Regions from separate parts of the Homo sapiens genome. Here all the other regions are linked to region 1. Evidence: promoter capture Hi-C in 16 types of primary human blood cells and fetal thymus (Javierre and others, 2016). All regions are on one chromosome and are shown on one strand. The core of a region is centred on a gene start or on the middle of the fragment in contact, and the rest is flanking DNA. Distances in the headings are between cores, read along the strand shown.

What was found. Contacts are between HindIII fragments. The CHiCAGO score rates a contact against its expected background, and 5 or more counts as called.
Region 2: the fragment with the promoter of LRFN1 here is called in contact with the fragment with the promoter of EID2 in region 1 in 1 of 17 cell types (naive B cells); the score reaches 5.1 in naive B cells.
Region 3: a contact is called between a fragment that was not itself captured here and the fragment with the promoter of EID2 in region 1, in 2 of 17 cell types (monocytes and naive B cells). The highest score is 6.4, in monocytes.
Region 4: a fragment that was not itself captured here is called in contact with the fragment with the promoter of EID2 in region 1 in 3 of 17 cell types (naive CD4 T cells, activated CD4 T cells and non-activated CD4 T cells); the score reaches 6.5 in naive CD4 T cells.

Annotation. Positions count from the first base shown.
Region 1 is chr19:39,538,667-39,542,046 of GRCh38, forward strand. EID2 (EP300 interacting inhibitor of differentiation 2) reads right to left here and starts at 1,495. Exons shown (of 1, transcript NM_153232.4): 1 at 41-1,495. The coding sequence starts at 1,413. The coding sequence ends at 703. RefSeq lists a silencer at 1,200-1,279 and an enhancer at 1,251-1,750. The HindIII fragment of the contact is 1,343 bases long and covers 566-1,908 here.
Region 2 is chr19:39,319,335-39,322,714 of GRCh38, forward strand. LRFN1 (leucine rich repeat and fibronectin type III domain containing 1) reads right to left here and starts at 1,529. Exons shown (of 5, transcript NM_020862.2): 1 at 1,459-1,529. RefSeq lists a silencer at 1,118-1,377. The HindIII fragment of the contact is 24,527 bases long and covers 1-3,380 here.
Region 3 is chr19:39,347,058-39,350,437 of GRCh38, forward strand. The region is part of intron 1 of SAMD4B (sterile alpha motif domain containing 4B); the gene reads left to right. Among named protein-coding and RNA genes, the nearest start is that of SAMD4B, 6.3 kb to the left of the region's middle. The HindIII fragment of the contact is 3,053 bases long and covers 145-3,197 here.
Region 4 is chr19:39,677,884-39,681,263 of GRCh38, forward strand. It overlaps the pseudogene LGALS17A. Among named protein-coding and RNA genes, the nearest start is that of LGALS16, 24 kb to the left of the region's middle. RefSeq lists an enhancer at 46-340. The HindIII fragment of the contact is 6,903 bases long and covers 1-3,380 here.

The DNA.
Region 1 (3,380 bases), core at 245-2,744:
CATCGTTGGTACTGGATGGAGGAAAACAAGAATGGAAGGCTTTTCGCTGTATATTTTATATATTTTTTGGCTTGTGAATAGATTTTTTAATACCAAAAAAACTTTAAAAATTAAAAATTGAAAGAAAAAAGTCCAGAAATTTGACGTTCTTGAAAACATGATTTATCACATAATATATACATTTACTTTGCTTGTCACTTGAAATGCCTAAGAAAACACAAAATCAATCTTAAACTAGAAACTTCTATTGAATATGACATGAAGAGAGCACATATTCCGACAATTTCAAGTTCTTTTCATAGCCTTCCAGTCCTAATAACTCAGCGTTAACATCTTATTCTGTTCAGCACTATTTGATAATTTCTTTCATCCTCATGGGCTCTAGTATTGATGTTTCATCAGTCTCAATTTTATAAAACCATCCTTTACTTTGTAATAAAGCAATGCTGAGAGACATTTTCCATAATGCAGGGGGAAAAATGTGGATCAATCACAAACTCAAAGAACGTTACAGTTATAATGCTTTCGACATTTTTTTCTACTTCTGTGATGCTTTTTCAAGATAAGCTTCCCCCTCCCCCTTTTTTTCCCCTCCACCTGTGCACTGTCTTATCGCGATATACTCTTGACTTCTGAAAATCAAGTTGCAGGATTGGTATGACTGGAATGCAGAGGTTCTCTTGAAGTAGTGTCACCACATAACTATTCTCTATTGATAAACTTATCGCAACCAAGTTCTTCTATCAGAGGGTTGATAACTTCAGAGGCAGTCAGAGCTATCGTAAAGGTTAAAATATCGAGGTCCACCCTGTGAGGATTTCGCTGATATTCGGCATCAAACGCTGCTTCCCTTGCTCTGCAGGCTTCCACGAATCGCCTGCGGCGTTCTTCAAGCTCTTGTATTCTGCCGGGAGCAATCGGGTAATTTTCCAGATAGTGGCGGAGAAACTGCTGGTAATTGATGCCTAAAACGCTAAGTGGGTGGCGGAGACGGAGATAGGGCAACGCAGCCAGGCCTCCGTTCCCGTGTCTGGACCTGGGCCTGCCCTCGGGACCCTCTTCGTCCACTGGCTCCCCCAGCAAGCGGGCGACCTCCGCCATCCGGGCTTCCCTGGCCGCCGCCGCCGCCGGGCTTTCCCTGCCCGCCGCGGCTGCCCTGGCCAACGCCGCCGCTGCCACCGGGGCTCCCCTGGCTGCCGCCGCCGGGGCTGCCCTGGCCGCCGCCATCCGACCTTCCCTGGCCGCCGGCACCGGGCCTCCCCTGGCCGCCGCCATCGCGCCTTCCCCGGCCTCCTCAGGCTGTGCCGGGGCCGGCTCCCGCCTCCCGCGGCCTACCTCCGCCTGCGGGACGTCTCTGTCACCATTCGCCGCGCCTGTCTGCGGGACACTGCTGTCTGCGGGCAGCTTGGACATCTCAGACCGTGGGGTCAACTCGGCTGCTCCCAGAGAAACTGGAATAACTGGACAGAGCGATGCCCGGCGGACACCCCAGTGCGCGTGCGTGGGCGCTATGCGCGCTGTAAATGCAGTGTGCGTAACCGGGCGCGAGAGCATAGATTCTTACCGCAAACCCTGGGAGCAGTGCGCATGCGTACTTTCCCGGCGCCCGCCGTTCTCCAGATGCCCCCTCGAGGCCGGGAAGCGCCAACGCATCTGAAACATCCCAACGACGAAGGGCGGGGGACATTTCAACCAGTTTGATGTTTATGAGGAACGCTTACAAGATCGCTTCTTGTAGGCGTTCTCAAGGTTCTGTCCTAGGGTGTTTCTCTTTGTTCTCCAGTGATTATGTGCCACCTCTATTATATATCAAGATATTTTAGATTCATGGTCTTTTCTGGATTTTTAAATTGTTTTTCATTCATTCCTTTGCCTGTCTTCATCCATACGGATCGTCCTAGCTACCAAAGCTTTGTAATTACAGTCTTTTCGTGTTATCTTTAACATTGCATTGACTACCTTGGACATTTGTTTTTCGAATCTTATTTGTGCAATATAACATGCAGAAAAGTAAACAAAACATAAATATACAGCTGAATGATTTATCACAAAGTGAACATCCGTTTAACTACCACACAGTCCAAGAAGTGGAATATTTCCAGCATCCCAGAACCCTTCCTCTTCTTCTTATCACTATCCTTTCCTTTCTACGCAGAAGTAACAACTATGCTGATACTTATGGTAATCACTTTCTTGTTTTTCTTTTCATTTTACCACCTAAGGGTGCATTCCTAATGCTGTAGTTTAGTTTGGTTTGTATTCTGAACTTTATCTATGTGAGAAACACACTCACCTGCGTAATTTTTGTATTTTTAGTAGAGACGAGGTTTCACCATGTTGGCCAGGATGGTCTCGATCTCTTGACCTCGTGATCCGCCTGCCTCGGCCTCCCAAAGTGCTGGGATTACAGGCGTGAGCCACTGCGCCGGCCACTTTCTTCCCTTTTATGGGCTGACCCCGCCTCTACATTCTGTTCCCTTATTGTGACCTTCTAGGTGGATGAGCCCTGCAGTTTGTTATATTTGCAGGCTGGCTGCCAGTACTTAGATTTATCATGCCTCAGAAATGGACCATTTAAAATGTTTTCTCACATACACACTTGTATCTGTTTTTTTGTGCATTATTTTTATGAGATTCATCCATTCACATTTTCTCTTCCTCCCTCCCTCCCTCACTCCCTTCCTTCCTTCCTTCCTTCATTCCTTCTTTCTTTCATCTCATTCTGTTACCCAGACTGGAGTGCAGTGGCACAATCACAGCTCAACGTGGCCTCAACCTTCCGAGCTCAAATAATCCTCCCACTTCAGTCTCCTGAGTACCTGGGACTACAGGTGTACACCACCACACCCAGTTAATTTTTAATTTTTTTGTAGAGACAGGGTCTCCTTATGTTGCCCAGGCTGGTCTCAAAGTCCTGGGCTCAAACGACCCGCCTGTCTCAGCCTCCCAAAGTGCTGGGATTATAGGGTGAGCCAGAGCACTCGGCCTCCAGCCTACATTTTCATTATGGTTTATAAATACTTTATTTTCTTGATAGTTATTATATTCATTACCATTTTTTTTATGAAGTCTCGCTCTGTTGCCCAAGCTGAAGTACAGTGGTGTGATCTTGGGTCACTGCAACCTCTGCCTCCCAGTTCCAGTGATTCTCCTGCCTCAGCCTCCTGAGTAGCTGGGATTACAGGTGCGCGCCACCATGCCCGGCTAATTTTTGTATTTTTAGTAGAGACAGGGTTTTATTATATTGGCCAGGCTGGTCTCGAACTCCTGACCTCATGATCCGCCAGGCTTTGGCCTCCCAAAGTGCTGATATTACAGGCGTGAACCACTGTGCCCGGCTTATTACCATTCTTTTATGGATCTTGTAATATTAAAACATG
Region 2 (3,380 bases), core at 279-2,778, 220 kb before region 1:
ATACACAAGTGCACACTCTTAAATGCCTAGACACACTCATACTTCACACATCTCCATGTTGCAAAGTTGATACAGCACCACGCTAACAGATACATACCTCACACACACACACACACACACAAAACCACAAGCATACAGATACGAGGCTGATCCACACTGGAACACGCACACAGGCACAAAAAGATCCACCTTTGCAGACACGCCAAGATGTTCACTCATAACAGACACATGCTCACACAACAGTCCTGTGATTTACACACTTCCAAATGCATAGAAAATACTGAACCACAGTAGCACAGTCAGTAGACAGGCCCAGATTCACACTCACACAGTCTTGGACACACATTCCTCCCAGCCCTGAGGCACCCCCCCACCACCCCACCTACTTACTTCCCAGGCCCAAGAAATCCTAACATCCCTGCAGCACATTCAGCATCCTGCCCTCCACACCCCCAAAAAACCAGGGCAAAAGCCAGGCCAGAGGTCAGAGTTCAGCAGGTGGAAACTCAAGAGGATTTGGGGGTTTGAGTCCTAGATCACCGTTTCAAGGAGATCCTCCCACCAGCAGCCCCAAAGGTTCCCCAGCCTGGCCATCAGGATGGAGGTAACTCTGGCTCCGTCTGCAGATGTCTGGCCGGTGGGGGAATTAGGGTGGAGTGGGTGGGGAAGGGCCGGGTCTTCGCCCCCCAACCCCCACCTCAGGGCCCATCTGTCCATTTCTCGGCCTCTCATCCCCCCTCCATCTGTCCACCTCCTGGCCGCCCATCCCCCCCCCGCAACCACCGGGAAGGGGAAGACATGGCCGCTTCCCCCAGGACCGCTAAGGACCCCCCAGTTGACATGGACCGAGGGAGCGGCGAACTCCCCTCCCCCAAATCCACACCGAGGCCTGGGCGCCGAGCCTCAGCCCCCAAGCCAGCAACCTGCCGTGGACTCACAGATACACACCCTCGGAGACATACAACCCGCAGACACACACACACACACACACACACACACACACACACAAATGGACACCCGAGCGGGCACACCCGGCTCCACAGACCCGGGGATGGACATCCAACCCGGACACAAACACCCAGAGCAGCTAGTCGCGCACGCACATGGGCTTGGGGGGGACCCACACCTGGGCACACAACCCACGCACACACACACCTGCACACAGCCCCTCCGATGGGCGCGCGACAGCGCCCAGACACACAGCCGGAGGGGCGGCCGCTCGGGGGGACACGCGTGCACAGCCGGACACGCCGGCCGGGCTCGACACCCCGCGCACACCCGATGGCCACACGGGCAGGGCGCCGCACACGCCGGCACCGGGCACACATAGGGCCGCGCGGGCGCACGCCGGGCCCGCCGCAGCGCCACGGACACACACTCGCACGCTCGCACGCTCACACCCGCGCACACACCCGCGCCCCCGCCCGCCGCTCCCGGGCCGCTGCAGGCCGCGCTCACCCAGCCCGGGGGGGCCCCGGGCCCGGCCCCGCCGCCGCTGCCTCGCTCCGCGCCATGGTGGGGGGAGGGCCGGGGGAGGGGGCGCGGTGCCGCGGGGCCGCCTCCCTCCCGCCTCCCGCCCTCCCTCCCGAGCCGCAGCCGAGCTCCGCCCTCCGCGCCGCCCGCCGCCACCGCCGCCGCAAGGGGGGAGGGGGCGCCGACTGGTGGGGGCGGCCGGGCGGGGCGGTCGCACACCCGGGATCCCCGCCCCGAACCCGCCGCAGACCCCTCTCCACTGCCGAGCCGCCGCGGGCCCGCCCCCGACCCTTCCCCAGCCCCACCCCCAGCCCCGCCGGCCTCCCCGGAGACCCCCCCAGACCACGCCCCAACTGGCCTAGGGACCCCGGATCTCCCTACAGAGACCTCCCATCACGTCCTAATACCCAGGGGGACCTCGGATCAGGCCTCACCTCTTTTGAGAACCCAGGCGATGTTCTAGGGCCACCCAGGACCACAAATCATGCCCTGCTCTCCTGCTTGACCTCAGACTATGACCCACACACTGTCAGGAACCCCAGACCATGCCCCCAAACCCAGAAGAATCCCAGATCATATCCCAGCATCCAAGGGGATCCAGACCACCCCACCAGCAACCCTAAATCATATCCCAACATTCAGATAGACCCCCAGACCACACCCCTTCCCTCACGGACCCCAAATCATACCCTAACATCGGGGGAGACTTCAGACCATATGTCAGCCAAATCCCAGATGGTGCCTGACTCCCTTTGGGGACCCAAACCACATTCTACAGCCACCAGAACCACAAATCATATTCCACTCCTTCTTGGGGACCCCCAGCCATGTCCTTCTACCCTCAAGGACCCTAACCCATTCCCTTACCCCCAGTATGAACTCCAAACCATGCCTAACTTCTAGGGGGCCCTAAAATGTCTCTTATCCCTATGGAAGACCCTTAAACTTTCCCCATGAACCCCATTAGACCCCAAACCATCTTCCACCCCTTTGACCTTACACCTTTCTCTCTCCTTCTCCTCCAAGACATCCTTTGGTTTCCAAAACTCCCCAATTAGCCCCAATTTTTTCCCACCCCCTACTAGTCCTGCCCCCTTGAGGACCCTGCCTCCTTCTTGCTCCAGTTCTTTCTCTTGGACCCTGAAAGTCCCCCCTCCCTGTGACTTCCATAGAGCCCAGAATGCCTTGCTCCTTCCTAGTTCAGACCCCTTTGCCCATCCCCTGTCCCATAGCTGAACCCCACCCCTTCCCTCAAACCCCACTGAGTATCTCAGGCCACTCTCCTTCTCTTTCTGAGATATTCACAGGGTCCCTAAACCCAGCAACTTCTCCCCTAAAAATCTGTGTTGTTTCATGCAGTGCCCCAGATTCCTGGGGTCTCAAACCCTTCTCGTTTTGGATCCCACTGTACAGAGGTCCTCCTCTAAACCCCTTTCCTAATTTTTTTTTTTTTTTAGACAAAGTCTCACTCTGTCACCCAGGCTGGAGTAGAGTGGCACGATCTCGGCTCACTGCAACCTCCACCTCCCAGGTTCAAGCAATTCTCCTGCCTCAGCCTCCCTAGTAGCTGGGATTACAGGTGTGCGCCACCACGCCCGGCTAATTTTTCTTTTCTTTTTCTTTTTTCTTTTCTTTTTTTTTTTTTTTTTGAGACAGAGTCTTGCTCTGTTGCCCAGGCTGGAGTGCACTGGCATGGTCTCCGCTCACCGCAACCTCTGCTTCCCGGGTTCAAGCAATTCTCCTGCCTCAGCCTTCCGAGTAGCTGGGACTACAGGCATGTCCCACCATGCCTGGCTACTTTTTGTATTTTTAGTGGAGACAGGGTTTTGTCATGTTGGCCAGGCTGGTCTCGAACTCTTGGCCTCAAGTGATCCGCCCGCCTCAGCCTCCCAAAGTGCTGGGATTAC
Region 3 (3,380 bases), core at 421-2,920, 190 kb before region 1:
TGAAAAAAGTGGGGGATTAATTGGCTTTTGTTACTGGAAAGTCCAGAGCTAGGTTGGCTTCAGACCTAGCTGCATCCAGGTGTTCAAATAATTTTCTCAGTCATCTCCTCCCATTTCTCCACTGAGTTAGCTTCATCCTCAACAAGCTTCTGCTTTGGATGACAAATATGGTCCTCAGCAGCCCCAGGTTTTAACCCTACCTCCTTGGAAAGCCTTAGTGGAAAGAGAACTCTTTCTTGAGAGTCCCAGTTTGAAAATAGTTTCTTCCTTGAATAGATGTGAGATTATGCCAGAAGATCCTTAGAAACATATTTTGGGTTCTGTACCCTGCAACTCAGTCTCTGGCTTGCTGAGCCAAATAGGCCTGTGATTCCATCCGATGAACTTTCTGAGCAGTGATGGCAATCTCCCTCCCCACTGTCCCCCAGCCGCAGTCATTCTCTGCTCTGTGATTGTTTGGGTCTAGAGAGAGCTTGTGGCTGGTCTGACTCAACCACACTTTGCTTTGGGATATCACGGGTGATATGAGGTGATCAGCCTGGCTTGATGGTGGCCTCAGGGGAGCAGAATCCAGGAGTAATGGCAATACCCTCACCACAGTTTAAGGTTTCCAAGACACAGAACTTTGGAAGAGAGTTAAGTAGGATTGCTGTGAGTGGAGTTTTGTTTTGTTTGTTTTAGTGTAAACTTGTTGAATAGAAGCGGGTTCAGGGCAAGTTACAGAACAGCAGTGTATGGAGTATGCAAGTCTCAAATATCTCCAGCCTGCACTCATTCATTAATGCATGGAGGCACTATTCTAGGTACTGGAGACAGAGCAGTGAATAAAACATTCAAGGTCCTGAAATTCATGGAATTTATATTCTGATGGGGGGAGGAAACAAAAAAATCAGAGTGTGATTCATGCTGTGAAGGAAATAAAACAGTGTGAAAGAGAGGGTGGGAGTGGCCACTGTAGTAGACAGGGGGATCAGAAGAGGCCTCTTTTGGGAGGTGACAGTTGAGCCTGATAACCAGAAAGATGAGAAGGCACCAGTTGTGGGAAGATCTGGGAGTGGAACATTCTAATCTAAGCATTGTTACATGCAGAAAAAGGACCTCTGCAAGGTGGGGAAATTTATCACAGATATTTATTGAGGGCCTGCTATGTACCAGGTGCTATGCTAGGAATTGGAGATGTAGCAATGAATAATATAGCTACAGTCTTCCCTTCTCTCATGGATCTTACAGTCTAGGTGTTTTTGGAAGAGCTGCAGCCTTTGAAGAAACATCTCTTGATGATGATATCATAGACTCCTTCCTACTGGGCAGATGAGGCAGAATGGGGCACAGGTGAGCCCAGATCTGATTGATGAGAAGGAACCAACCTTGTGACGGTCCGGGGAAGAGCATTTCAGGCAGAGAGGTCAGCAGGTGCAAAAGCCCTGCCATATGTTCAGGGAATCGCAAGGACCAGTGTGGCTAAAGCCTAAGTGAGGGAGAGGGGTGAGGGTTGGAAAGGCTGACAGAAGCCAGATTACTTGCAGCCTAAGGGCCACAGTAAGGAGTTTCTATTTTCATTTAAGGGGATTGGGAAACTATTAGAAGGGAGTTTTTAAAAGCAAGACAGCGACATGATCTGATTAATTTTTTTAGAAAGCTCACTTTGGTTTCTGGGAGGAAAACAGAGGGTCAGGACAGAATCAGGAAGGAAAGTTAGGAGACAATCCATTTGTCCAGATGAGAAATGGTGACATGAATGTGGTGGTGGTGGTGGTAGTGAAGATGTAGAGAAGCAGATATATTTTGGGTGTACAGAAAACAGGACTTGATGATGGGATTAGAGAAAGAGAGGAATCTAGAATAATGATAATAGCCAAGTCATTTATGCCTCACAACTCTATGAGAGTAGGCACTATTATTATTTTCTGTCTTCCTTCTCAGTAGGTACTATTATTACACCCACATTACAGATGACAAAACAGGCATGGCAAGGTGAAATCACTTGCCCAAAATTACACAGGTAGTAAGTGGCAGGCTTATATTTCCAACCCGGCAGTCTGGTTCTAGAGCCACTTAGGTTTGGGGAAAGATAAGCAAGGCATGTGTAGCTGACATTAAGAAAAAAGAAATATCAAGACCTAATGACTGGGTCTTTGGGAAATGGAAGAAGTCAAAGATGACTCAAAAAAATGTCTCAGTTGTCCACAGAGAGGTGATGATTGAATCTACAGGAGTTAATTACATGCCTAAGTGAGAGAAAACAAGTGTAAAGAAGGGAAAGGAAGCAGAGAATAAACTTTTCGGGGGGAAGGGGTGTCAAGACATTTAGGAGTGGGAGGAAGAATGCTAGCTTCCTCTCTATTCCAGAGTTTACCGGAGCTCCCCATACTGTACTTATCTTCCAGGAGGCCCTGCCTGGCTTCTCCTCTCCTCTCCCTCCCTTCCCCAGCACCATTCATACAAAAAGCTCATTCTTTGCTAATGCAGTGGTGTACATGTTTTGTGTACGTATTTCAGGAGTTTCTGGAAATAATGGTTGATTCTTATAAGAGAAGTTGTGCTCCCTTGGCTTCTGACAGTCTCTTCTCAGGTTATGAAAGTGAGTTAACCCTAGGTAACTAGCCTGTTACCTTGTTCATGAAGTGTAAGTTCTCAAAGGCCTAGGTCGTGCTGTAAAAAGAACTAGGAATGGGTAAGAAGGCAGATAGGATCCCCTTATTCATCCAGAGATGTTGGTATTAAAGGGCCCTTAGGCCCAACTTTCACCTTGTTGCCCAGGCTGGTCTCAAACTCCTGGGCTCAAGCGATCTGCCCACCTCAGTCTCCCGAAGTGCTGGGATTACAGATGTGAGCCACCATGCCCAGCTTTCTTGCATTGTTAAGAGCAAGCAAGAGCTCTGAAGCCAGACTGCCTGGCCTTGAAAATCTCAGCTTGGTGTACAGTCTTGGGCAAAGTGACTTAACTTCTCTGTGCCTCAGTTGCTCCATCTGTAAAATGATAATATATTCATATATGTATGTTATATATTTTTGAAATAGAGTTTTGGGGATCAAATGTGCTTATCTGTGGAAAGCTGTTGGCAAAGGGCCTGACAATGTATGATGTATGAAGACATGCTAAGCATCATGCTTGCTATTGAAATGAAGTATAGAGGAGGAAAAAAGCATCATGCGCGGTATTTTTAAATACATTGTTTCATTTAATTCTTCTAACAAGCTTCATTGAGGAAGAAACAGAGTTACTTGTCATAGTCAATACAGCAAGTAAGTATAACAGGAGAGCCAGGATTTAAGCCAGGTCTGACTAACTCCACCATCCTGCTTCTGAATGAAGAGAGCTGGACTCCAGAGGCACTGTTTATGGGCATATGGGCCTTTTCTCACTGTTTGGGGCCAGA
Region 4 (3,380 bases), core at 315-2,814, 140 kb after region 1:
GCCTGGGCAACAGAGCAAGACTCCATCTAAAAAACGCCACCCTTGTATCTTAAAGTCCCTCATGACTGTACTACTCTGTGCAGGCCCTCCAAGAATGCGGTGTTGCTTTTGCTTTCCTATTTTTGTAGGTGGAAGCAGCTCTAATGGCTTCCATTGCCCTTTCCTACTATCACATTCCTCCCTGCACAGGTCAGACAACCAATGTGGGATTCTGCCATTTGCTGAGTGTGTCCATTCCACTTCTGCAACCTGACACTGAGCAAATAAGCAGAGGATGGATGTGGGGCCAACTGGGCAGTGCCAGGTGCTTCCAGTGCTTTCACTTTCACATAATTCCAGCTGAACTTGGAACCGACTTAAAAACAGGATTTGATTCCCCTTTCACTTCTACTTATGAAGACATCAATAGATTTCCAGGAAATCCCACGTGGAGAGGAAACTGATTTTGTAATTCACTGCTTGAGTCTGATGCATACTCTCTAGTTAGTATTTCAGACACAAATCACAGGAACAATATTTGCTGCTTGAGGAAACAGCTATGAAGACACTGAGAGTAGATACAGAGTGTCTTGCCTGCCCTAGGTGAACTGGCAGGAAATAAGAATCTCTGTGTCCCTGGTTGCTTTAGGAAAGTAGAAACCTATAGAGACTAGGAGAACTTTCTATAGGTGTGAGAAAGTGTGTGAGGAAAAGAGGAGGATAGTGGACAGCATAGAGATTTCTGGACTGAGACGGGATTTCGGGCGTGAATAACTGAGTGAGTAGCAGCGTGGAAGGGGCTGTGTCTGAGCTGAGCAGGGCTGAGTGGGAACTGCGCTCTCTACACTGAAACAGAGTAGGGACCTCATGGGGGCTCCCTTCCCCTATTTGGACTCCAAAGTGCACAGGTGCCTCCGCTCGACCAGGAAAAAGAAGAGGGAAATTCATATGCTCTCTGCCCTCAGTTCAGGAATGGGGGATGAACCATCCCATTTCTGGAAATGTTGAGACCCAGACTTAGCAAAGGCTAATTTGTTGATTTAAAGAGTGCTCATAGATGACCATGCCCTTCTACCATCCTCCTTTCTGACTTAGAATGGGAAAAGTCATGTCATAGAGGAGGAGCTGTGGGCTCAAATAGTGGACAAGGCAGTCAGTACTTTGCAGAGTGTCAATCTTGGTCAGAGATGGATGCAAGGCAAACCCTTTGACCAGGGCACACAATGACATGGCTTCATGAGAAGCATGGAGGCTGAAGTGCACAACTTCCCACCCTCACTCCATCATCCTCATCTGTGCCTTCCCTGGCGATTCCCTGCCCCTTGGTGTGACCCTCCGTGTCGTTTCTGCTGCAGCACAGTCACAGGCCTGAAAACTGAAACTGAGTCTATTTCTGCCACCCCTACTCACGCTGCTGAGAAATCTTCCTGGCAGGGGTTCAGAGAAAGAAATAAAGCCAGAGGGCAGGGCCAAGAGGGACTATTTAAGTGCTGCAAATCAGAGACTCACACAGAAGACCAGATACTATTCTGAAGAACTACACAGAGGGAGACAACAATGTCATCACTAAAAGTAAGTCAAAAGACACAGCCTTTAATAAACTCAATTCACATAAACCAAGAAAGAATCAGGGGTGATTTCACAAGACGAAAGTATGAGAGTTTCTCTTGTGAACACTTTACTGAGAGTTGTGGGTGTGTGAAAGAGAAACCGTGCGGCTATGATATCTGAGATGCTGGTGGAGTGTGGGGTGTGGACTCTGAACCAGTGTAACCGTCTGTGAGTGCATGGTGGTGTCTGATGAGAGTAACCTCTGCTGAGATGATGTGACTTTAGGTGGGAGGTGAACAGCCCACCAGGGTGGGCGGGTGTGTGCCTGAGTGTAAGGGTGTAACTGCGTTTTGTCTTCTTGACTGTGATGTGAGTGTGTGTGTGAGCACAGCTGGACCAGTGTGTGAGCATCTTTATATGCACAGTGAGCAGGTGTGTGAGACTCAGTGAGTGGCATGGCTCTGTGAGACTATGGGTGAGTGTGTGCTGGGATGTGACTGGGTGTTGAACTGGGAGCATGCAAGGGGCCTTCTGTGCATGTAAAGTTTCCTCCCAACACAGCAGCGCCTCTGATGAAGCAGCTGGGCACTTCCCATGTGTCAGTGTGTGTCCCATGTGTGAACAGTGTGGGTGGCAGAACTGGTGCGCCTGTTGTGAGCCATGAGTTATGGAGGAGTCATCTCTGAGCAGAATGCGTGAATCCTCAGGTGCCTCCTCCCAAGCAGAGTGGGGAAAAGGAACACAGACTATGGGGCCGATGGTTCCTCAGGTGGGGTCTGTCCAGAAAGGCCATCTGCTCCTGCCTCCAGCCTCAGGTCTCTCTGTCTCCCAGCCTGTCCATCCCATTGTGGGAGAAGAGGGTGAGCAGATCCTGGCTCACTAGGGAAGGCCTTTGGGGGATGTGGGTTCGGAGACTGAGTCGCCCAAAATAGAGAAGGAATCAGTTTATTCTTAGTTCATACAGAGCTTACAGTGCATATTAATCAATAACTTGCCAGGGTTTGTGGCTCATGCCTGTGATCCCAGTGGTTTGGGAGGCCAAGGTGGAAGGATCGCTTAAGGTGAGGAGTTTCAGACCAGCCTGGGCAACGTAGTGAGACCCTGTCTGTACCCAGAATTTAAAGATTATCCAAGCATGTTGGTGTGCACCTTCATTCACAACTACTCAGGAGGTTTTGGCAGGCGGATCACTTGAGTCCAGGAGTTTGAGGCCACAGTGAGCTGTGACCATGCCACTGCAATCCAGGCTGGGCAACAGAGTAAGATCCTGTATCAAAAAGACCCCAAACCCCAACACCAAACAGAGAAATGAAAATCAAACAATATTTAGATTACCTCCAATGACTTCCCTGGCCCACACTCTTCATGTGTGCAGGTACTGGGGCTGTGCTGCCAGCAAGGTGTCCCCTTCTGGAAAGGACGTCCATGGCCCTTGATGATTGTGATGCACACGGGGGTTTCCAGTTCTTTTAGCATTTCTCTCTCTCTTTCAACAAGTGTTGTTTCTCACTGGAGTGAATCTCTCTACTCTTACATCCTCACATCTTGTTTTCACAGCTTCAGTGTTGAAAATAATCACAGGTCGGTGTTCCAGAAGCAACCTCCCTGTTCTAATGGGTAACCCCCAACAGGCTTCATGCATGGCAGAGATTAGGGCAAAACTTTCACATATATTAATTCATATATTACTGGAAAAACCCTACAAAGCAGAAATTTCTGCTTATCCTCCTTGTCCTGGGGAAACTGAGGCAGGGAGCGTTCAAGTAATGGATCTAAGATTGCACTGCTAGTAAGAGGCAGAATGAGGACTGGAACCAAGGCAGCATGGATCCTGAACCATTGCTCTCATG